Regions from separate parts of the Homo sapiens genome. Here region 2 is linked to region 1. The links are contacts of gene promoters, found by promoter capture Hi-C in human tissues and cell types (Jung and others, 2019). All regions are on one chromosome and are shown on one strand. Each heading gives the region's core, a stretch centred on a gene start or on the middle of the fragment in contact. The rest is flanking DNA. Distances are from core to core; before and after follow the strand shown.

What was found. Contacts are between HindIII fragments. The study calls those that stand out against the background at their distance.
Region 2: a fragment that was not itself captured here is called in contact with the fragment with the promoter of CCDC169 in region 1 in 1 of the 25 tissues and cell types used here (thymus).

The regions. Positions count from the first base shown.
Region 1 is chr13:36,295,437-36,300,359 of GRCh38, reverse strand. It overlaps CCDC169 (coiled-coil domain containing 169), which reads left to right and starts at 2,546. Exons shown (of 8, transcript NM_001144981.3): 1 at 2,546-2,723; 2 at 4,503-4,582. The coding sequence starts at 2,641. CCDC169-SOHLH2 (CCDC169-SOHLH2 readthrough) reads left to right here and starts at 2,546. Exons shown (of 16, transcript NM_001198910.2): 1 at 2,546-2,723. RefSeq lists enhancers at 995-1,957, 1,958-2,919. The HindIII fragment of the contact is 10,512 bases long and covers 1-4,923 here.
Region 2 is chr13:36,348,573-36,353,495 of GRCh38, reverse strand. All of the region lies in intron 1 of SPART-AS1 (SPART antisense RNA 1), which reads right to left. It also overlaps a transcript of SPART not described here. Among named protein-coding and RNA genes, the nearest start is that of SPART-AS1, 4.6 kb to the right of the region's middle. The HindIII fragment of the contact is 6,788 bases long and covers 1-4,923 here.

The sequences.
Region 1 (4,923 bases), core at 1,297-3,796:
GATTTAGCAGGAGACAGGGGTAATCACCCTAGCACCTGGACCCATTTAGATTAAGTTTACTGAGGCTCCAGAGGAAGGTCTTCAGGACTCAAGACCTTAGTTGTAGATTATAAAAAGTTAACCACTTAATGTCTATAGATGAATGCACACTTACACATAGACATATAGCTTAGAAGGTCTGGAAAACTGTAATTTTGAGTTGGTCTGGTTATAGTTTCCAGGGCTTCTGCCTGTAACTGGTTCCAGAAATAAAAACTCTCTTCCTCCCCAGTTCATCTACATGTTCTTACTGGGTCACAAGAAATAGCAACCCAACCCTCAGTTTGGTCTGGGAACACCCTGTGCAGCTCTCCCCTCCAATATCTGCCCTGCAAAGTCTAGCTGCCTTGTTCTCTCTAGACTCTTAGAGAAACTCCGTTTCCTCAACTTAGGGCAACCACCAGCCTCTGCCTGTTTTCTCCCTTTCTGCTTTGTACCCTGGCAGGCCCAGGCCAATTTGGGAGCTTGCCTCATTTGTGTCTCATCTCTTGGTGATCGTTTTCCCTTATTGCCTGATGTTCAATGTTCTTTTTTTGTTCCTCTTAGTTTTTTAGTTGTTTCAGGCAGGAGGGTAAATTCAGGTCCTTTATCTCTGCCAGAAACACAAATCTGTGGTTTCTGTAGTTGTTGACAAACCTGTTTTCTGCTTGCCTTTGCTCCTAATTTCCCACAGTGAGATCCTGCTAACAGATCTTTTTAAGAAATCCTCTGGGTCGGGTGCAGTGGCTCATGCCTATAATCCCAGCACTTTGGGAGGCAGAGGTGGGTGGATCACGAGGTCAGGAGTTCAAGACCAGCCTGAGCAATATGGTGAAACCCCATCTCTACTAAAAATACACAAAAAAATTAAGCCAGGCATGGTGGTGCGTGCCTGTAGTCCCAGCTACTTTGGGAGGCTGAGGCAGGAGAATTGCTTTAACACAGGAGTGGAGTTTGCAGTAAACTGAGATTGTGCCACTGCACTCCAGCCTGGGAGACAGATGAGACTCCGTCTCAAAAAAGAAATCCTCTGTATATTTGGATTTGTCAACAGATAATCTAGTCCTTTTCACTTCATTCTATTCTGTTTACTTGGTTGTGAGTTGCCCTTTCAGACTTAACAGCTAGACAAAATTTTGATAAGCATACCTCCTATATTAGGGTAATTCACAGAAACAGAACCAATAGGGAGTGTGTGTATAAAAGATTTATTATAAGGAATTTGCCCGTACAATTATGAAGGCTGAGAAGTCTCAGGATCTGCAGTTGACAAGCTGGAGATGCAAGCAAACTGATGTGCAGTCCCAGTCTGAGCCCAAGGCTGGAAAAGTGTTCCAGCTCAAGCTGTTTGGCTGTAGGAGCTCCCTCTTACTCCTGGGAGGTCAGCCTTTTTGTTCTATTCTGTCTTCGGTCGATTGGCTGAGGCCCACCCACATTGGGGAAGACAATGTACTATACTCAGTCTACCAATTGAAATGTTAATCTCATCCAGAAACTCAATTGGAAAACTATGTATTCACAACACTTCTGACACCAAATTGTGTTTTCCACACCAATTATCCCATTCTCACTAAAACCTTGGTCTCCACAACCCCTTTATTCTCTAAAGACATTCCTAAGTCTTTAGTCAGTAACTTTTCAACCAATTGCCAATCAGAAAATCTTTGAATCTAGCTGTGACCTGGAAGCCACCCCGTCCCCCACCCCTTCCAATTGCCCTGCCTTTCCCGATGGAACCAGTGTATATCTTAACATGCATTTGATTGATGTCCCATGTCTCCCTAAAATGTATAGAACTAAGCTGTACCCTGACCACCTTGGGCACGTGTTCTCAGAATCTCCTGAGGGCTGTCACCCGCCATTGGTCACTCATTTGGCTCAGAATAAATCTCTTCAAATATTTTACAGAGTTTGTCTCTTTTTGTCAAGGAAACACAGATGTATCAAGGGTAGGATGCAAACTTTGTGATTAAAAATATAATGAAATTTCAAGTTGCAGTGAGCAGCTCTGAGGTATGTTCATGAACAGCACACAGATGCAAAACAATAATCTGGAGGGTTAGCAGTCTTCCCGAGTTCAGGAGGTACCTTTTTAAGACCAGTTCCTCCCGCTCCGACACTGCCAAATCAGCGACTCTGGTGCTTGTTCAACTGAAGCAAAGAAGGGCGCAGCTAATCTTGGATCCAGCGTTTCCCTAACAAGGGCTAAGAGTGAAGCCGACTTTGCCGTCCGGGGCAATGTTTAGGAAAGCAACCAAAGCCAGCAGGAGGGAAGAAAAAGGAGAGGGATATTCTTGGCCCCCTGACACTCCGCTGTGTAGCCGGAGCACGTCTAACCCCAGCGTCTTGAGCAAGGAGTGTCCCTGGAGCTGTTATCCAGGGTCGCTCCACCGCACAGAGTAGGCTTCTCCAGTCTCCCCGGCTGCCCTCGCCCCACCCCCTGCCGCCTGCGGGCATCGCTTTATGACGTCACCACGTGCCTCTGCGGGCAGGCGCGGGAGGTGCGACCGGGGGGCGGTTGGGGTTCACCGCCTCGTGCCGTACTGGCTTCTGGGTGGCCCTTAATGTCTTGTGCTCTAAGGTGCTGAGGGGAAAGACGCGGGAGGTCTCTGGCCTGACACTATGAAGGAAGAGAGAAACTACAACTTCGACGGTGTGAGCACCAACCGCCTGAAACAGCAGTTGCTGGAAGAAGTCCGCAAGAAGTGAGTCGGCGGGCGGCGCGGTGTGGGGTCCCGTCCACACCCCCCGAGCCTTCACCTGCAGAGTCTCAGGGCTGAAGCCGCTGAGGGTGCTGTAAGACCGGCGCCGTGATTAACCCCTGGGCACTTCGGTCTGGGTTCCAAAAGTATTCCATGCGAAAGATTCACGTGCCTCTTTGAGTAAGCCTTTGGTATTGTTAAGTAGGCAGCTTTCCGGGTAGGATGTGCTGCCCTTAAGGATCCAATCATATGGCGTGTATTTTGCCCATATACTGTAATGCCAAAAGTTGTGTTTGGTTTTGATGTCTCCATAAATCCAGGTTTTCTGCTTAAAATTCCAAAGATTTTATTTAGTTATACGGGGTTTTTTTTTTCTTTCATCCCTTTAAGGGGAACTTCATAAAATGACATTTAGTAAAACTGTTACTCCTCCTTTATGCTTTTTAAAAACAGTATTCGTACTTCGTGTTAAATTTTTGAAACATTTAAAGTATTTTTTGGACATACTCCCAACTCCATCCACAAGTCCCGTGAGAATTGGACTCTCCTTTGTGCCTAGATAGGGTTCTGGGTTTTCCTCTATTGTAGCTCCAGTCACAGTATTTTAATTGCCTGTCTATTTCTTGTTTTGCTACCAAACTACACGCGTTCTGAGGACAGGTTCTGTGTATTCTGAGGAAGTAGAGAATAAGAGCAAGTACTTGAGGACAGTCCTGCAAAAACACAAACTCCATCTCTTGTCACTCAGTAACTATGCAATCTTAGACAAGTTAATTAACCTCTTTAATCCTCAGTTTTCTCAGCTCTAAGACTGGTATACAAATAGTCATCTCATACCTCCTGCTGTTGTTCCCAGGTTGGAATGAAATGCACTATAAAGAACTTAGCATTGGCTTGTGATACGCATCCAGTGGAACTTTGCTGCCGCTATTGCTATTTTTCTGTTCACTGTTCACTGAATTCTTCCGTATTTAATACAATGCCTTGAACATAATAGGCACTCAAAAATATTTATTGAATAAATGGCCCTGTCATATGATAATGTTCTATTTACTGATGCCCTAAATAGCTAACCTTTTAAATTAGTGTTTGTTTTTTTCTCTTTGTTTCAGTTTGTCAGCTGTTATGTATTGCCCTAGGTATGCCTTTCTGTAATAATGTGCAGTGCCTAATTTGCTTGGTTCTGAAAAACCAGGTAACTAACTTCTTTAGGATGATATTTAAGTTAAAAATAAAGGATTTCCAAGGGCCGGGCCTGGTGGCTCACGCCTGTAATCCCAGCACTTTGGGAGGCCGAGGCTGGGCGGATCACAAGGTTAGGAGTTCGAGACCAGCCTGGCCAATATGGTGAAACCCTGTCTCTTCTAAAAATACAAAAAAATTAGCAGGGCTTGGTGGCGCATGCCTGTAATCCCAGCTATTCAGGAGGCTGAGGCAGGAGAATTGCTTGAACCCGGGAGGCGGAGGTTGCAGTGAGCCGAGTTTGCACCACTGCACTCCAGCCTGGGCGACAGAGCGAGATTCTGTCTCAAAAAAATAAATAAAAATAAATAAAAGATTTCTAATGGTTGCCTGGGGGTCTTTGAGCTTTAGTGCATATTTGAGTCCTAGAACTGACTAATTGGAAGCCTTCCTTTGCCTGAGTCTTATTTCTTAACCAGTCCTTCAGTAAATAATGTGTCATAGTAAATTGTTCCTGAAGTAGTAGTGGGTTACTATGTATTATTTTTCTGATGTTATTTTTAATTGAATTATAATCAACAAAAATATTTTAAATAACAGGGATGCAGTGCAACTCTCAATATTTGAACTAAGACACAAGATTACGGAACTGGAAGCCAAACTCAATACTGACAATGAAGGTATATAAGTAAATACTTATATTTGTGACTCCTGTATAATTATTGTTCATTTTACCAGGATATCTATGGTGCATTAAATTCCATATATTGAATAATAGTACCAACATTTCAGTATTGCTTTTTGGCCACATTAATGATAGTTTATGATAGAGGCTTTAAAACTGATACTTCAGAATATCAAACCTATTACTATTTAATTATTTTTCTACCTTTCAAGTTCAAAATGTTCATTAATTAGCAAAAACTTTGTTACATGACATCAATATATTATTTCTTTATTAAATAAATATCACCAGTTTTCTATTCACCTCAAGTTACACTCTTTATATCTTAACTTCTAG
Region 2 (4,923 bases), core at 1,182-3,681, 53 kb before region 1:
GTGTTCTCCCTCACTTCAATAAGTAATAAACCCAGTTTGCTAAAAACCTCCAGTGTATTCTTGGTTGTATTTGGCTGGAGGGCATTGACATTTGCTTTGAGCTTCCATTCCCACCTCTCATAGAAAATCTAATGCCTTCTTCAAAATGTCCAAGGGTCTCCCCAGGGGCTTACAGTCTCGAGGACATTTTTGGCTCTGAGCCTTTCCTTTCCCTAAGGAGCTCAGTTCATGGGTTCTCTCAGCATCATTCTTCGTCTCATTCTTTACATATTTGTCTTGCTCTGTACCATGTAAACAAGATGAATGGTGAGCCTTTTTCCTACATTTCTAGACAAAGCAAAATAAAACAAAACAAGACAAAACACAGCATTTTTTGGCAAACTGCTCTAAAGTATTCAGAAAATGTAGGCTTCATACATCACAACAGCAAAAGCAACCTCAAATGCAAAATTTGGAAATTTCGTTCTGAGTCTTTTGTCAGTCTATCATGTTGCTTGGCTTTTCCTCTCTTCTCAATTTTTAAATTTTCTATTTTTGAGACAGGTTCTGGTTCTGTCACTCAGGCTGGAGTGCAGAGATGTGAACATGGCTCACTGTAGCCTTGACCTCCCAGGCTTGAGAGATTCTCCCACCTCAGCCTCCCAAGTAGCTGGAGCTACAGGTGTGTGCCACCATGCCTGGCTAATTTTCAATTTTTTTTTTTTTTTTTGGAAACGGGATCTCCCTGTGTTGCCCAGGCTGGTCTGGTCTTGAACTTCTGGGCTCAATTGATCCTCCCACCTCAGCCTCCCAACATGTTGGGATTATAGGTGTGAGGCTACCACACCTGGCCTCTTCTCAGTTTTCACTGCTTCTCATTCCCTACTCCACTTGTGCAAATCTTTGCTCATTTGTAATGTAGTGACAGTATTACAAAATGCTGTGTAAGTATTCTCTCATTTATCTGTCTGATTTTGCCTGTGTCCTTGGTGACTCATCTTGAATCTAGGTGGCTTACCAATGTATTTTCCTAAAGGAATGCAGTTATTAGAAGAATTTTGGTGTCTGGTTTTAAATCCCACTCCACCACTCTGTTACACATATAATAGAAAATAAGATAGCCAACCCAGTAGCCTATTTATAACATAATATAAAAAGTACAATTTAGCTAGTACCAAGTCAAATTAGGTTAGTAAGAAATGTTAAAGGAATTGTTTTCCATTTTTAATCAGTAAATTGCCCATCATCCACTATATTTGGTCTGTAAGAGGAAAGTTATACTTTACTAAGAACATCACAATTATTGATCTTTTGTCAAATGCATGCTTTTCATATAATGTAGAGTTCAAGAAAGAAAAAAGTAATGAGATCACAGGTCAGAAACCTTACCTCATGTACAACTTTTAGAACATTATTAAAACATTAACCCTCAACATAATGTACTCACAAGGAGTTTTAGTTTACATCGAGTCATCCCACTGATTTCAACATGAGCTTGGAGCAATTCGGTTATATCATTAGTGATAACCTAAGTTCACTTCATGAGATGGATACCCTGACATCTAACTCAATTCATGGCTAATTTGGACATTTCTCATTTTAATGATATTCATCATTATGTGATATACTCTCTGGGTTTTCTAATACCCACTGACAATATTATATAATAGATGAAAAGAAAAAATACTATATTTTCAGCATGTGAATAAAAGAAATGACAACCTGAATGAAATTGAATCTAGCATAATTTATGATTGAAACTTTTAGCACATTCATCTAACTAAACTACAGGCTTCTACACAAAAGTCTTTAGCATAATCACCCAGGATTTGTAAGTATAATGGGTATTGCATGCCTAAAACCCAAATAGGCATATATCATTCCTAAAGTCCATTAACAAGTAGATTTTTCTTCCGAGAACATTTACGTTATTAAAATAATGCTATGTATACTACTACTGTTTTATTAATGGCACTGTGACAGGGTTACAATAGTGTTCATATTTACCAATTTTTGTACAGTGAAATAAATTCTTTGCCAAGAGAAAACAACTTCATCAATCTTAAGGAAGACAGACTTTAAAAAACATACAGATTTGCTTAGAACCAAATTGATCTTTGCTAATCATTAAAGAATGTCAGCAAGAAGAGAAGAAATTCATGTATTACTACCAATATTTATTGAGTGCAAACTTTTTTTTTTTTTTCAAAATTAGAGATGAGGTCTTGTTTGTTGCCCAGGGTGGTCTTGAACTCCTGGTCTCAAGTGATCCTTCTGCCTCAGCCTCCTAAAGTACTGGGATTACAGGTGTGAGCTGCTGCACCTGGCTTGAGTGCCAACTTTAAATGAGTTACTTCAGTTAATTTAGGTAACCACCCTGTGAGGCAGATTCTATTATCACATCCCCATATTACAGATGAGAAAACAGGTCAGAGTGTTTAAGTGGCAACAACTGTGAGATGAAGGTGGCTTCAAACTCGGGTTCTTGGATTCTAGAACTAGTGGTCCCAGACTCTCTGCTACAAGTATGTGATGTAAAAATATTTGACCGGGGTATGTATACCACTGGAGGTATGCAGAAATTTACAGGGATATAAGATAAGATAATCAATACCCAGATTTTAATTTTTTATGTGCTATTTCCTAGTATCTTTTTTCCTACTCCTCCTTTCACACTAAAACTTTTCCCACTTTATGCAAGAAATACACAGCTCCCTAAATCTTACTCTGGTGCATTACCCAGGGGTAAAAGCCCCAAAAGTGCCATGATTTCAAAATATTGTTCTCTTCTATAATGGTATGATGGTAATTTTCATTTAAAGACCTCAGCCACAATTATTCACTAGTTTTAGAGAATTATTTTTTTTAGAAGGATCTGGTAAGAAAAAAAGACAGGGGAGAAAAGTTAGAAGTTAAGTGACAGCAGCTGGTTTTTAGCCAATTATTCCTATCCTGAGATGGCCAGGTGGAAATGACCAAATCAAATCTCCTTGTAAACATGCAAGGTATATTCTGGTGGAAAGAGAATGGGGAGTCCTTGTCTATGAAATGCTTTTTAGCAGGGTACACCTGGTCTGTCTAGATGGCCTAAGGTAAATAAACCCGGAATTGATCGATATATTAATACATGGAATGGCCCAGTGGAAAATGTCAGTGTCCACCATGTAATTATTTCAGTATAAAACGGAGATAGTTCCTGACTGAAAGAGCTCCATCTGTGTAAGTGTTCACCGGCATAACTTACTCAGAGACCTCACCTGCGAGATCTAAGCCAGAATGTGTTCTAAGGAATTCGGGGAAGCCCTGGGGACCTGGGTTAGTGGTTTTGGATACTGCCATTATTTTCTTGTGACTGGGTAAAAGAAAGCTCTGAATCTTGTCAGTCTGATTTGACAATCCAATCCTTGTTTTACCTCAATAAGATATATTAAATGTTAAAAATGGCTTTTTACATGTTTCCAAATATACGCAATTATTTTCTGCTAATCTCAAGCACCCCTTTGGCCTAAGCAGATCCAAGTTTTGTGATGCTTGCAGCTTTCACAGTTTGAATGGCCTTCTGTAGGAAAATAATAAAAGTGAATCAAAAAATTACTAATTTAAAAAAGCTGACGAATACTACAGATACCACAAAATCCAGAAAAATAACATCATTCTATTATTCAGGTGCTTGGCACAGCCCATAATACTTTCCCCCACCTTTCTTGGCTCTATGCTGATTGCTTCTTCATATGAAAATGATTTTGCAACATATTCCACAGAGATAACAGATAATTCAGTTTTTCCTCTAGCATAGTTTATCAAGATTAGCTTTTTAATATAATTTAGGAAAGCTCAGTTCAGCTTCATAATTCAGTATTAAGAGTGTCACAGAATTTCACAATTATCGAATTTGGAAGGACCACTAATACAGGTTTTGACCAGGTACTGAGGAGCAAACCAAATCCTTTGCTTACACTTTTCTACAGATGAGCTTCTGGCCCTGTTCACTTTACTTGTTCCTTCTACCACATCCTTCTGGTACTGGGCACTGTAGGACCCAAACAGAAAGCAATATGGTGCCTGGCCAGTGTCTTTCTGTTTGGATGCCAGGTAATTCTGCAGTCAGTAGTACGAATATTCCTAGAAGTCAGCACTAGACTACTATGGCTAGCAGTAACTTAACCATACGTGGAAGCTTCTGTGAACATAAACATACCTCATAAAACAAAAATTAACCACACTGACTTACTGCAGTTTTTTGCTTGTTTGTTTGAGACAGAGTTTTGCTCTTGTTGCCCAGTCTGGAGTCAATGGCACAATCTCGGCTCACGGTGACCTCCACCTCCCGGGTTCAAGTGAGTCTCCTGCCTCAGCCTCTTGGGTAGCTAGGATTACAGGCATGCGCCACCACGCCCAGGTAATTTTGTATTTTTAGTAGAGACCGGGTTTCTTCATGTTGGTCGGGCTGGTCTCGAACTCCCGACCTCAGGTGATCCGCCTGCCTCGGCCTCCCAAAGTGCTGGGATTACAGGTGTGAGCCACCATGCCTGGCCTGCAGCTTTGTAGTTAAGTTTTGAAATTGGAATGTGTCAGTCCTCCAACTTCATTCTTCTTTTTCAAGATCTGTGTGTGTGTGCTCATGTGGCTATTCTGGGTCCTTATATTTCCCTGGATTGTATGAATTTTAGGATCAGCTTGCAAAATTCTGCAAAAAAGTCATTTGGGATCTTGACACGGATTGTGTTGCGTCTGGAGGTCCATTTGAGAAGTACTGCCATCTTCCCAATATGAAGTCTTTCAACCCTTTAACATGGGATGTCTTTCCATTTATTTAGGTCTTTAAGTTCTTTCAGCAATGTTGTATGGTCTTCAGCATACAAGTCTTGCACTTATTACATTTATTTCTAAGTATTTTATTCTTCTTGATAATATTATGAATGGAATTAATTTCATTTTTGAAAT